4 separate regions of the Homo sapiens genome follow, and all the other regions are linked to region 1. Evidence: promoter capture Hi-C in human tissues and cell types (Jung and others, 2019). All regions are on one chromosome and are shown on one strand. Each heading gives the region's core, a stretch centred on a gene start or on the middle of the fragment in contact. The rest is flanking DNA. Distances are from core to core; before and after follow the strand shown.

Region 1 (2,867 bases), core at 34-2,533:
GGCTGGGTGATGCTGCTGTTTGTCATGGTCTCTGTTTTATCCTCCAAGATTCTGCTATTCCTTTTATACTCAGGGCTCTTCTCCAAGGTGTGTAGGTCTCCCTCAACAGACAGGCAGGGGAGCTTAGCAGGTGGGGGAAGCTCACCTCGATCCCACAGCAATGGCAGTGAAGGGGGCAGCGGCAGCAGCAATGGAATCGACATTTTCCTTTTGCAGGGCCTGTTGCGGGCAGCTCTGGGAGGAGCAGCGCTCCTTGGAGGAATACAGAAAGGCTTCTCATCAGGCATCCTCTTTCCGGACATCAGCGGAATCGGCAAGCCTAGGGAGCTGGGCGGTGGCTCTTCATTCAGCACTTCCGCAGCCAACTTCTGCTGCAGCAGGGAGCAGCCAACGGCTGGCTCAGGGGGCGCTGTTGCATCCGGATCAGGCTTTCCAAGATGCCGGGCACATCCGGCCTGGCTGTGTGTGCTGGGCATGGCAGGGCCTTCCAAGCAGGAGCTCGCTGGAGACGCCTGGGCCTTCTCACTCATGCTGTTTTCTGAGAACTTGTGGTAGACATTTCCCTCCAGAGGCCCAGGGCTGCATCTGAAGGAGGCCACGTCTCCCTGGGTGCCCTGGGACCTGGATGTGGACGATGCTTCTCCGCTGCTAAGGGGGGTCCTTTTCTCGTCATCCTCCCCTTCGATCTGCACCGGATCCTCATCCTTCTTCACTCTTCTGGGCCCTTCTTGGGCCCACACCTCGGTCTCCTCCAGGAGAGTGGCTGGGATGGGCTTCCTGGCCTTGACCGCCGGCTCACGTGGTGAAGGCAGCAGGAGAGTGAACATGCGGCTGGGAGGAGGGATCCTTACGGAACTGGGGTGTCCAAACCTCGGGGGGTTCCGAGCAGGCAGCATGGGTGTCTTCCTGATGGCCAGCCCCCAACCCACAGCCGGCAGGACCCCCAGAGGGGCGGCCGCAGCCCGAGGGAGAGGACACGGCCTCTTAGGGGCGACGAAGATGCTGGCTGCTGAAGGCCTGCGACGGGCGTTCCGGCGGAACAGGCCGCGGAAAGGGCGCGGGGTGGGTACAGAGTGAGCCCGACCGGGCGGGGAGGCGTCCCGGGACAGGGGAGCGGGGGCGCCACGCCCTGGCCCTGGCAGGGGCCGGCGGCGGCACCCGGGTCTAAATTTACTAAGTAAATTGCCCATTTAGAGCTAGCCGTGCCTCCTACCGTAAAACAGGGTCAGCAGTGGACTCAACTCTCCTCAGCCACCGCCTCCTCTGGCGACCAAGCACAAACTGACTGGCTCTACGCCTGCGACGCCGCCGCGAGGTTCCTCACAGAACCAGGGAGCGCCAGCGGGGGCGCAAAAGGCAGGGGTCAGAGGGCAAAGGGCGACGCCCCGTCGGCCCCAGCTGCCCCAGGACCCCCGGAAGCCCCGCTGCCGGTGGCAGGTGTTGCACCGCGTGGCCTCTATGAGGGAACTGCTGGGGCCTGCGGGCCCATCGCCAGAGCTCTTGTCACCTGGGCGCCGGCTCTGCCTGTTCCTTAGCCCTGGCCCGGCGCTGTTGCACGCAGTGGCCCTGTGTCGGCCGTCCCCATTCCCCGGTTCACAGAGGGCACATCTGCTTCAAGTTAAGCACAGGACAACCTATATCCTGCCAGCCTCCTCTAGGACCTTGGCAGTGCTCTGTGCTGCCTGGAGCCAGGTGTGCCGTCTCTGTGGCGCCAGGGTCACCAGCCAGGCCGTGAGGGTTTCCGAGGAGGGGACGTGGTGCCTTGTCCTGACTAGATGCTACGCCCTACCACATCTCTTCCTGGCAGGCAGGGCCTCTTCACTTCTTTTCACAAATTTGTTTTAAACAACATTTAAGGCTGGGCGCGGTGGCTCACGCCTTTAATCCCAGCACTTTGGGAGGCCAAGGCGGGTGGATCACCTGAGGTCAGGAGTTCGAGACCAGCCTGACCACCATGGTGAAACCCCATCTCTACTAAAAATACAAAAATTAACTGAGCGTGGTGGCACGCACTTGTAATCCCAGCTACTAGGGAGGCTGAGGCAGGAGAATCGCTTGAAAGCGGGAGGTGGAGGTTGCAGTGAGCTGAGATCACCTCACTGCACTCCAGCCTGGGGGAACAGAGCAAAACTCTTGTCTCAAACAAAAACAAAAACAAAAAACCACAACAAACAACAGCAACAACATTTAAGCCTTAGGCTGCTTGCTCCTTGGGTCATTGATATGACAGTGGCCTAGCCAGGCTTCGAACCTGGGCTGTGTGATTCCAGAGCTGGTGCCGTGGCCTGTGTGCCTCCTTGTTATGGACACATCATGTATTCTCATTATTTCCTGTAGTCCTTAGGGTACCTAGCACACAGCACATCTGTATTAAGCACATGCGTTCCTAGGGGGAAGCCCTTACTTCACCTCATAAGTTGGTCATGGCAGGCACTGGGCTCCAGTCTCCTCTGAAGACATGGGGCAGCGACCCCCAATAGTCAGCAAAGCAGCATCCCACACTGTTCTTCTAATTGAGCCTTGCAGCCCAGATTTCCTTTTTGGTCTAGTTTGAAGGATCTAAATATGTAAAGATTATAGTCCAGATCCATTTTGGCCTATCCCGAAAGAAATTCACCAGTGGATTAATCCAAATGGATAAGCCAGTTCTCTGGCCTTCTTGGAATATGTTAGAAAGCAAATTCATCATGTATTTGCAAGTCAGTAGTGGAGCAATGTATTCGATTAAAATATGATCAATACAATTTGGTCATTGTCCGCATGCCAGCAAGGCCCACTCTTTACCACACATTACTGTCACCTAAGTATAACTATCCATATTCTTATGCCCAAGGAAGGAGACTTAATATTGGTTTTTAGGACAAAGG
Region 2 (3,291 bases), core at 331-2,830, 110 kb after region 1:
TCTTATAATGAAATGAAACGAGCAAACTTCCATTTACTAAGATTGTCCATATTTTTTTTTTGAGACACAGTCCTGCTCTGTCCCCCAGGCTGCAGTGCAGTGGCAGGATCTCAGCTCACTGCAAGCTTGGCCTCCTGGGTTCACACCGTTCTCCTGCCTCAGCCTCCTGAGTAGCTGGGACTACAGGTGCCCACCACCACGCCTGGCTAATTTTTTGTATTTTATTAGAGACAGGGTTTCACCGTGTTAGCCAGGATGGTCTCAATCTCCTGACCTTGTGATCCGCCCGCCTCAGCCTCCCAAAGTGCTGGGATTACAGGCGTTAGCAACCGCGCCCGGCCTGAGATTATCAATTTAAATGAGGCTCTCCTTCCTATGGGGTGAATTGTAAGCTCAGAGGGGTAAGAAGGTTTATTGAATTATAAATGTCCCAAATAATAGCACCTGAATTACTGCTACGATCTTCTCGGAAGTAAGAAATATGGTCAAGGGCAGCTGTATCTCTTACTCCACATCTCCTGGATGCAGGAATTTATTTTCTCACTGGAGCTATGAAGCTGGTACGGAGAATGTAGCCCATGATCACGGTCTGAAAAAGCAAAAAGAGTCCTAACTTCGTGGATGTCCTTGGGAGTGTAGCACACAGTCCCATGGCTTAGTAAGCTTTGTGGACATTGTTCCTGGAACAACCCTGGTGCTCTCCCGTAAAGTGGTGTGGCCTGTGAACGGGGAGCTATGTGGGTGATGAGGGGACAGTCCTCCCTGCTGTGGGGATCTTTGTTTAACCAGTACAGATGCAAAGTCAGCACTCAGCCCGTGTCCATCTCTTAGATCACTACATGGTGGGCTGGGCTATGTTGTACTGTGCTCTTCTTCCCTTTTTTCTATTAGGCTATTTCCACCTCTGCACAACACACTCTGTATCACTAACATGCCTCACTTTCATATGCCTGGTGTCTAAAGGTTCATTTCAGGTCTCTGTAAGCAGGAATTAGCCTACAACCCCATGATTAGAAGCTTTTATTTTCATACCTAGTGAACCTTCTACACTATGATATTGTCTATGCTGCAGCTTTTGGGCCTCTCACTGGACAAAAGAAATCCATGATGTTATAGCATCAGGGGACTGTGTGATGCCATGAATTCATGATGAAGTCTGCATAATAAAGAGAACTTAATTATCATAGGGTATTCTCAAAGGCTTTAAAAAACTTTGAAACTTGAACAAAAGAATCTCTGAACTAAGAAAACACTCCTAATGTAGAAATATTATTTATGTTCCCCATCACTGGTGTTTCTCAATCTTGTCTGGAAGTCATGTCTTCCAAAATGTCTCTAGTGAGATCCCACAAAGACACTACCACAAAGTGTCTGAAAATAGGGCCTTCTAACACATGTGGGGCAGGCACCTTTCTTTGAAAAAGTGGTTACTGATGTATGAACTGGTGACTGGGTAATGGAGCATATGATGGGAAAGAAGAAAATGGATGAGAGTCCCTGGAGCTTGATGAGGCGCCTGAAGCCTGAAGCAGGTGCCCTGTGTAGGAATGGGGATAATAAGGCAAGTACTTTGCCTTTCACTCCCTGCATCTCCACTCATCCTCTGATCCAAGGTTTCTTGTTGTTTATGTCCATCTGTGTTGGTATTTTTTTTTGTTCCTAAATAATACATTTTAAGAACATTTTTATTTGAAAATAATTTTAGTTTTACAGAAACTTGCAAAGATAATACAGTTTTACATAATCTACAGCTTCCTGAAATGTTAACAACTTATGTAACCAGAATGTATTTATGAAAACTCAGAAATTGACAGTGGTACAAAACTATTAACTGAAATACAGACTTTCTTAATATTTTGCCAGGTTTTCCACTGATGTCATTTTCTGTTCTAGAATTTAATTACATTTACTGTCAGGCATATTACCTATAGGTCGCTGTATAACATATAACCGAACAGCTTAGATGTTCAAACCCACACATAAATATTATTTAACATTTTCTCTGGGTCAGATGTCCCAGGCTGAGGTTTCAAGTGAAGCCTCCCCTGGGGAAGGATCCCTTTCCCAGCTCATGTTAGTGTTGGTAGGATTCAATTTTTTTCTAGGTTGTGATGACTTCACTGGTGAATTATTCTAACCCCTTTGAGAATTAATAACAATCCCTTATTAACTAATCTTTCAAGAAAAATTATAAAAACAGAGGAGTAGAGAACACTTCCCAATACGCCGCACGAAGCCCGTTTTCCCTGATAGCACAACTGGACAAAGAGATTTCAAGAAAGGAAAATTACAGACAAATACGCCCCATGAAACAGAGGCAAAAATTCTGAAGGAAATACTATCAAAATAAACCTGTAGCCTAATAAAAATATACATTATGAGCAAAGTCATTTGTCCCTGAAATATGTTTTCTTAAACATAAAAAAACTATTAGTGTAATACACTATATTAATAGAATGAAGGACAAAAGCTTCATAATTATCTCTAAAGATACAGAATAAGCAGTTGAAAAATCCAAAACACATTCAAGATAACAAGGCTGAGCAAATTAGGCATGGAAGGAAATTTTCTTAAGTGATAAAGGGCATCTATGAAAAACTCACACAACAACACAACATATGATGAATGTTTCAGTAATTTCTTCAAAAAATTAGCAACAGGACAAGGATGTATGCTCTTGCTACTTTTATTCAGTATTGTACTGGAACATGCAGCCAGGGTAATTAGGCAAGAAACATAAATATAAGACTTCTAGAATGAAAAGGATGAAGTTAAGCTATCTCTATTCATGAATGACATAATCCTGTGTATAGAACATCTTAAGGAATAGTGCCACAATAAATATACGTGTGCATGTGTCTTTATAGCAGCATGATTTATAATCCTTTGGGTATATACCCAGTAATGGGATGGCTGGGTCAAATGGTATTTCTAGTTCTAGATCCTTGAGGAATCACCACACCGACTTCCATAATGGTTGAACTAGTTTACAGTCCCACCAACAGTGTAAAAGTGCTCCCATTTCTCCACATCCTCTTCAGCACCTGTTGTTTCCTGATTTTTTAAAGATCGCCATTCTAACTGGTGTGAGATGGTATCTCATTGTGGTTTTGATTTGCATTTCTCTGATGGCCAGTGATGATGAGCATTTTTTCTTGTGTTTTTTGGCTGCATAAATGTCTTCTTTGGAGAAGTGTCTGTTCACATCCTTCACCCACTTTTTGATGGGGTTGTTTGTTTTTTTCTTGTAAATTTGTTTGAGTTCATTGTGGATTCTGTATACTAGCCCTT
Region 3 (3,295 bases), core at 233-2,732, 80 kb before region 1:
AATTTTTGTATTTTTAGTAAACATGGGGTTTCATCATGTTGGCCAAGCTGCTCTTGAACTCCTGACCTCAAATGATCCACCTGCCTCAGTCTCCCAAAGTGCTGGGATAATAGGCATGAGCCATCGTGCCTGGCATGGACACTGAATTTTCTTATCCATAGATCGTATCTGCACCTGGAAAATGATGGAAGGGACAAAAACCATGTTTACAAAGTCTACAGAAGCAGAGAGTAATGTCCTAGGCCTTCACCTTCACTCACCACTCACTAATTTACCCAGAGCAACTTCCAGTCCTGCAAGCTCCGTTTATGGTAAGTGCCCTATACAGGTGTGCCATTTTTTATGTCTAATACTGTATTCTTACCTTTTCCATGTTTAGATATGTTTACAGGCACACATATTTGCCATTGTGTTACAATTGGCTAGAATATTCAGTACAGTAACACACTGCAAAGGTTTGTAGCCTAGAAGCAATAGGCATACAGCCTAGGTGTATAGGAGGATATACCAGCTAGGTCTGTGTAAGTGCACTCTATGATGTTCACAATGTAAGCAAAAAATAAAATTCTAAGAGTGCCCAGTCATCTGGATGGACTTTCCCCTCAGCCAGAGCTCTTTTAAAATTTAACCTGAAAGACTGGTTCAGGCCCTAACAGGAAGTGGGGGTTGGTCATGCCTCAGTATACCTCTCCAGCATTAATATTAATACCAACTTTAAGTCTGAGTAGAAACATTTTAAAACCTAGGCAGGTGCAGTGGCTCATGCCTGTAATCCCAGCAATTTGGGAGGCCCAGACGGGCAGATCACCTGAGGTCAGGAGTTCAAGACCAGCCTGGCCTACAGGGCAAAACCCTGTCTCTACTAAAAATACAAAAATTAGGCACCCTGGCGCATCCCGTAATCTCAGCTACTCGAGAGGCTGAGGCAGAAGAATTGCTTGAACCCTGGAGGTGGAGGTTGCAGTGACCCAAGATCGCACTACTGCATCCCAGCCTGGGCGATAGAGTGAGACTCTGTCTCTAAAACAAAAATAAACACAAAAACCTATTCTCTCTGAAGCCTGCTACCTGGAGGCTTCATCTGCATGATAAAACTTTGGTCTCCACAACCTTTTATCTTAACTGAGACATTCCTTTCTTTGATTCCAGGTCTTTAGACCAACTCAACCAATTGTCAATCAGAAAATGTTTAAGTTTACCTTCACCCCCCACCCCTCTTAGAATACCTGCCTTTCTGGACCAAACCAATATATTTCTTATATGTATTTGCTATCTCATGCCTCCCTAAAATGTATAAAACCAAGCTGCACCCTAACCACCTTGGGTGCGTGTTCTCAGGACCTCCTGAAGATTGTGTCCCGGGCCATATTTGGCCCAGAATAAATCTCTTCAAATATTTTACAGAGTTTGACTCTTTTCATTGACAATAAAATGACCAACTCGACAAATGACACATTTCTTAGAACACATCCCCGTTCTAATGCTTGACTGTAGTTAATTGACAGAGATATCCTTTCTTATAGTTCCATGTGAAATATTTGATTCATTGACACACAGTGGCTGACTTCCATGGAGACTCCTACTGATACTGTGTATAGGTCAATTATGATCTTCCCTTTAGTGTTACAAACGGAGTTTAATTATCGATTTTTCTCTGTGAGTTTCACACACATTTTTCCTTTGTATTGCGAGCTAGAAGCAAACAGCTGGGAATGCAGTAATCATTGTGTAATTGTGGAAGGTATGAATCAAAACGCTGTGGAAAAACAAATATGGTTTGGACATGCCTCAACAAATGTAAAAAACTGGACAGCTTATATGGAACAATGGAAATTATACGGAACAATAAAAATTATATGGACCAATGGTTTGCAAGACACTGTACATCAATCAAGGACGGACAGTAATCCCTGAAAGACTTAAAACAATTATAGGAGCCCTAAGATTGTGTCAAGTTACAGCTTTAAGTTTCCTTCTGTAGTGTGGCAAGGACTTTTGAGACTTTTTGTGTCGAGAAGATGAAACTGAGGGTCTTAAGAAGAGTTTTGCTCAGTGTCATCAAGCCATTATCCAAGCCCAGTGTTAAGAGTGGAAGAGAGGAATCATGCCAGCACCTATGCAGAGAGGGTTGGCTTGTGCTACCATTTTCTATATTGACATGGGTCACAGAACTATGGGAGCAGTCCAGGAGAAAAGGCAAAGCCACTCGAAGAAGTCATTTTAATGAACTTAGCCTTCAACGCTTTCATCTTATTCCTAACTGTAAAAAGACAGGCTTTTACATGACACAGCCCATGTTGCAGCATTAGCCCACGATGAGAGGCGACTCGTTAGAGATGAAAGAACTGCTTATGAGTAGGATGAACCACCACACCTAAACCAAACCTGCATTTTCTACAATGTGTTGTTATGTGTGACTGATATACTGATTACATTTTGATGCTCTGTGACTTGGGATGTTTCACTTAAGATTTTTCAACTTTATGATAGTGGGAAACTGACATGAATTCAGCAGAAAGTGTACTTCAAGGACCCATGAAACCATTGTGTTTTTCACCTTCAGTACAGTAGTCAATAAATTGCATAAGCTATTCCACATTTTATTATAAAATAGGCTTTGTGTTAGATAACTTTGCCCAACTGGCTGCTACACAAGCAATGAAATCTTCAGTCTAGTGATCTAAAAAATATTTTTGGCAGGATTTCCAAAACATTTATGAGCTGTGAGAATCCAAGTTTCCAAGAGCATTGATACTTTATGGATATTTTTATTCCAAATGATAGATGGATATTTGTTTGCCAGGTGATGCTGTGGTCAGGGGCTGTGGTCTTCTATACTCTATACAGAGAATTTCAAGGGCAGATCTTCTTAAAAACAAAACAAAACAAGACAGTTCCCCTGGTCTCCATCATCTTCGTTATTTTATTGTATTGTGATTTGATACCACTAATCTTAATTTTCCTAAATATTGAGAGCCACCCAGTACTCCATGCAAACTATATAGCTGTGGTATGTATGTAGTGAAAGACAGCAGGGCAAGGTCATCCCCAAATTTAAAAGAAACGAATATCCAACTATAAAAAACTAGAAACATCCTGTCTGTGAAAACGCTTTGTGATGTACATTTTTATTATCACAGAATGGAACCTGTGTTTTGATTCAGCAGGTTCCAAACACTCTTTCGTAGAATCTATGAAGTGACATTACTGAGGCCGTTGAATCATGTAAAACAAAAAACAAAAACGTATATCCAGCTCTAAAAACTAGAAAAAAGCTATCTATGAAAATGATTTG
Region 4 (3,337 bases), core at 795-3,294, 110 kb before region 1:
ATTTCTCTCTAACTTGCTTGGTTACAACAATAATTCCACAACGAAATCTCAGCAGAACACATGCTCCCAATAAATTCATGGTGGAGTCTATAGAATAAAATAACTTCATTATCACAGGGTTCTCTCAAAGTCTTGAAGGTATAGTTGTCATGTGAAAATTTAAAGAAGGATTCCTTGCACATGGAAACACTCTCCTAAATGCAGAAATATGACTTATGTTCCTTGTCATTGGTATCTCTCAATCTTTCCTTCTAATGTCCTGAATCCCTGCCTTCCAAAAAGGCTTTAGTGGGATCTTGTAGATAAACTATCTGACAACTTCTTAAAATGGGGTTTTCTGTGATATGTGAGACACAGGAAGCTTTCTTTGAAGAAGTGATTACTGACACTCAGGAAAGTGGTGACTATGTAATGGGAAGCCAGTGGGAAAAAAGAAAGAGGAGAAAAGTTCCTGGAGCTTGATGGTGTCTTTCTGAAGCAGATGCACCTGAATTTAGAATTGTGAATAGATAAGGAAGATGCTTTCCTATTCTCTCCCTATGTATATGACCATCATCCAATGAATCATCATTACCTGATGGAGGTTATTTGTTTATGTCTGTGTAGTTTTTTTTTGGTACCAAAACAACACTTTTAAAATAAGATTTTAATTGTGAAATGCTTAAAAAATATACAAGACTCAAACTACTTTGTTGGGAACAGACCCCCAAATCTGGCCATAAACTGGCCCCAAAACTGGCCATAAACAAAATCTCTGCAGCACTGTGACATGTTTGTGATGGCCATGATGCCCACGCTGAAGGTTGTGGGTTTACCGGGATGAGGGCAAGGAACACCTGGTCCACCCAGGGCGGAAAACCGCTTAAAGGCATTCCTAAATCACAAACAATGGCATGAGTGATCTGTGCCTTAAGGACATGTTCCTGCTGCAGATAACTAGCCAGACCCATCCCTTCCTTTTGGCCCATCCCTTTGTTTCCCATGGGGGAATACTTTTAGTAAATCTATAATCTATAGAAACAATGCTTATCACTGGCTTGCTGTCAATAAATATGTGGGTAAGTCTCTGTTCGGGGCTCTCAGCTCTGAAGGCTGTGAGACCCCTGATTTCCCACTCCACACCCTACATTTCTGTGTGTGTGTCTTTAATTCCTCTAGTGCCACAGGATTATGGTCTCCACGACCGAGCTGGTCTCAGCACTACTTAATTACAAGAGTATAAGTAACAACATAAAAAATGGGCAAAGGACTTCAAAATAAGACATACAACTGTCCAACAGACATATGAAAAAATTCTTCAACATTTGTAATCATCAGAGAAGTGTAAATTAAAATCATAATGAGATATTGGCTCACACCTGCTACTTTGGCTATTGTCAGGATGATGAAATATAACAAATGTTGGTGAGGAAATGAAAAAAGACAAACTTTGTACATTGTAGGTGGGAATGTCAATTAGTACAGATATTTTAGAAAATACTATGGAAGTGTCACAAGAAATTAAAAATAGAATTACTATATGATATAGCAATCTCTCTCCAGGGTATATGCCAAAAAAATTGGAATCACTATGTTGAAGAGATGTCTTTACTCTCATGTTCATTTCAGCATTATTTACATTAGCCAAGATTTGGAAACAATTTAAGAGCTCATTAATGGATAAATGGATTAACAAAAATGTGGTACATATACACAATGTGATACCATTCAGCCTTAAAAATATAGGAAATTCTGTCATTTGCAACAACTTGGATGAACCTACAGTACATTATGCTAGGTAAAATAGGCTAGACACAGAGGGACGATTACCATATGATCTCAATTATATGTGGAATCTTAGAAGTCAAACTCATAGAAGTGGAGAATCATATGGTGGTTACCACAGGTTGTTATGAAGGGGTGGTTGGGGAAGGAGAGACATTGGTCAAAGGGTTTGAAGTTTCTATTAGACAGGAGGAATAATGTCTGGTGATTTATTTCACAGCATGGTGAATATAGATAATAAGAATGTGTTGTATATTTCCCAAAACAGCTAAAAGAGATGATTTTAAATGTTCTCACCACAAAGAAATAATAAATATTTGAGGTAATGGATATGATGATTAGCCTAATTTGACCATTCCACAATGTATACATATAACAAAACACCACAATTAACCCCATGAGTAAGAGTACATACACTTATTATCTGACAATTAAAAATAACAATTAATTTTAGATTACTGAAAGGTATAAGGAGAATATAAAGAGTTTTGTATACCATTCAGCTTCTTGCAATCTTAACATCTTAAATAGCCATAACATATTTGTGAAAACAAATAAAATTGAATGTGGTAAAAACCATTAACTGAAATACAGACTGTCTTTATACTTTACCCGATTTTACATTAATGTCACTTTTTCTGTCAATGATTCATTCCAGATGCCACAGTACATTAACTGTCAGGTTTATTACTTATTTATTGCTGTATAACTCATTTATACAGCAAAGTGCCTCAAAACCACACACACACATATTACTCACTGTTTCTTTAGGGCATGAATCCTGGTGTAGATGATGTCTAGGCTGAAGTCTCAGCTGAAGGTTCAGCTGGGGAGGAATCATCTTCCAAGCTCACAGATTGTTGTTAGGATTCAATTACATGCCCAGGGTGAGATTACTTCACTAGTAAATTATACCAAAACTTTAAAGAATTTATAACAATCCTTCACTAACTCCTCTCCCAAGAGAAGAAGAAAACAAACAAAGGAACGAAAACCAAAAAGGAAAAAGAGAGCACTTCCCAATGCATTTTATGAAGTCAGTTAACCTGATACTACAACTGGAAAAAGACATTGTAAGAAAGGAAAATTAGAGACCAACATGCCTTATAAATACGAGAATCCTCAAGGAAAAACTATCAAAACACAAAAGCACCGTAGACAAAGGATATACACTATGACCAAGGGTATTTATTCCAGCATTGCAAGTTTGGATAAACATACAAAAACAATTAGTAAAATATACTATCTAAATAGTATAAAGAGTAAAAACACATGATCACTTAAGATGAAGAATAAGCATTTGACTAATTAAAACCCCATTTATGATTGGAGCATTTATGAAAACATTGAGCAAATGAAGCATAGAAGGGAACTTTGCCTATAAAGAGCATCAATTAAAAATTCACATAGAAACATACAATGTCATGGAAGCCTCAGTAATTTCTCCAGGATTAGAAATAAGACACTGAGGTCCACTCTTGCCACTTCTATTCAACAGAGTATTGGAGGATGTAGCCAGGACAATTAGGCTACAAAAAATGTAAGACATTCACAATAGAAAGGAAGAAGTTAA

What was found. The method cuts DNA at HindIII sites, captures the fragments that hold promoters and counts their contacts. A contact is called where the count stands out against the background at its distance.
Region 2: a fragment that was not itself captured here is called in contact with the fragment with the promoter of NPAP1 in region 1 in 4 of the 25 tissues and cell types used here (dorsolateral prefrontal cortex, heart left ventricle, heart right ventricle and 1 more).
Region 3: a contact is called between a fragment that was not itself captured here and the fragment with the promoter of NPAP1 in region 1, in 2 of the 25 tissues and cell types used here (aorta and spleen).
Region 4: a fragment that was not itself captured here is called in contact with the fragment with the promoter of NPAP1 in region 1 in 4 of the 25 tissues and cell types used here (dorsolateral prefrontal cortex, liver, mesenchymal stem cells and 1 more).

The regions. Positions count from the first base shown.
Region 1 is chr15:24,674,191-24,677,057 of GRCh38, reverse strand. It overlaps NPAP1 (nuclear pore associated protein 1), which reads right to left and starts at 1,283. Exons shown (of 1, transcript NM_018958.3): 1 at 1-1,283. The coding sequence starts at 1,190. The HindIII fragment of the contact is 8,790 bases long and covers 1-2,867 here.
Region 2 is chr15:24,563,954-24,567,244 of GRCh38, reverse strand. It overlaps PWRN1 (Prader-Willi region non-protein coding RNA 1), which reads right to left. Exons shown (of 9, transcript NR_026646.1): 2 at 445-589. Among named protein-coding and RNA genes, the nearest start is that of PWRN1, 7.4 kb to the right of the region's middle. The HindIII fragment of the contact is 3,541 bases long and covers 1-3,291 here.
Region 3 is chr15:24,754,094-24,757,388 of GRCh38, reverse strand. No RefSeq gene overlaps it. Among named protein-coding and RNA genes, the nearest start is that of SNHG14, 68 kb to the left of the region's middle. The HindIII fragment of the contact is 8,191 bases long and covers 1-3,295 here.
Region 4 is chr15:24,780,966-24,784,302 of GRCh38, reverse strand. No RefSeq gene overlaps it. Among named protein-coding and RNA genes, the nearest start is that of SNHG14, 41 kb to the left of the region's middle. The HindIII fragment of the contact is 6,461 bases long and covers 1-3,337 here.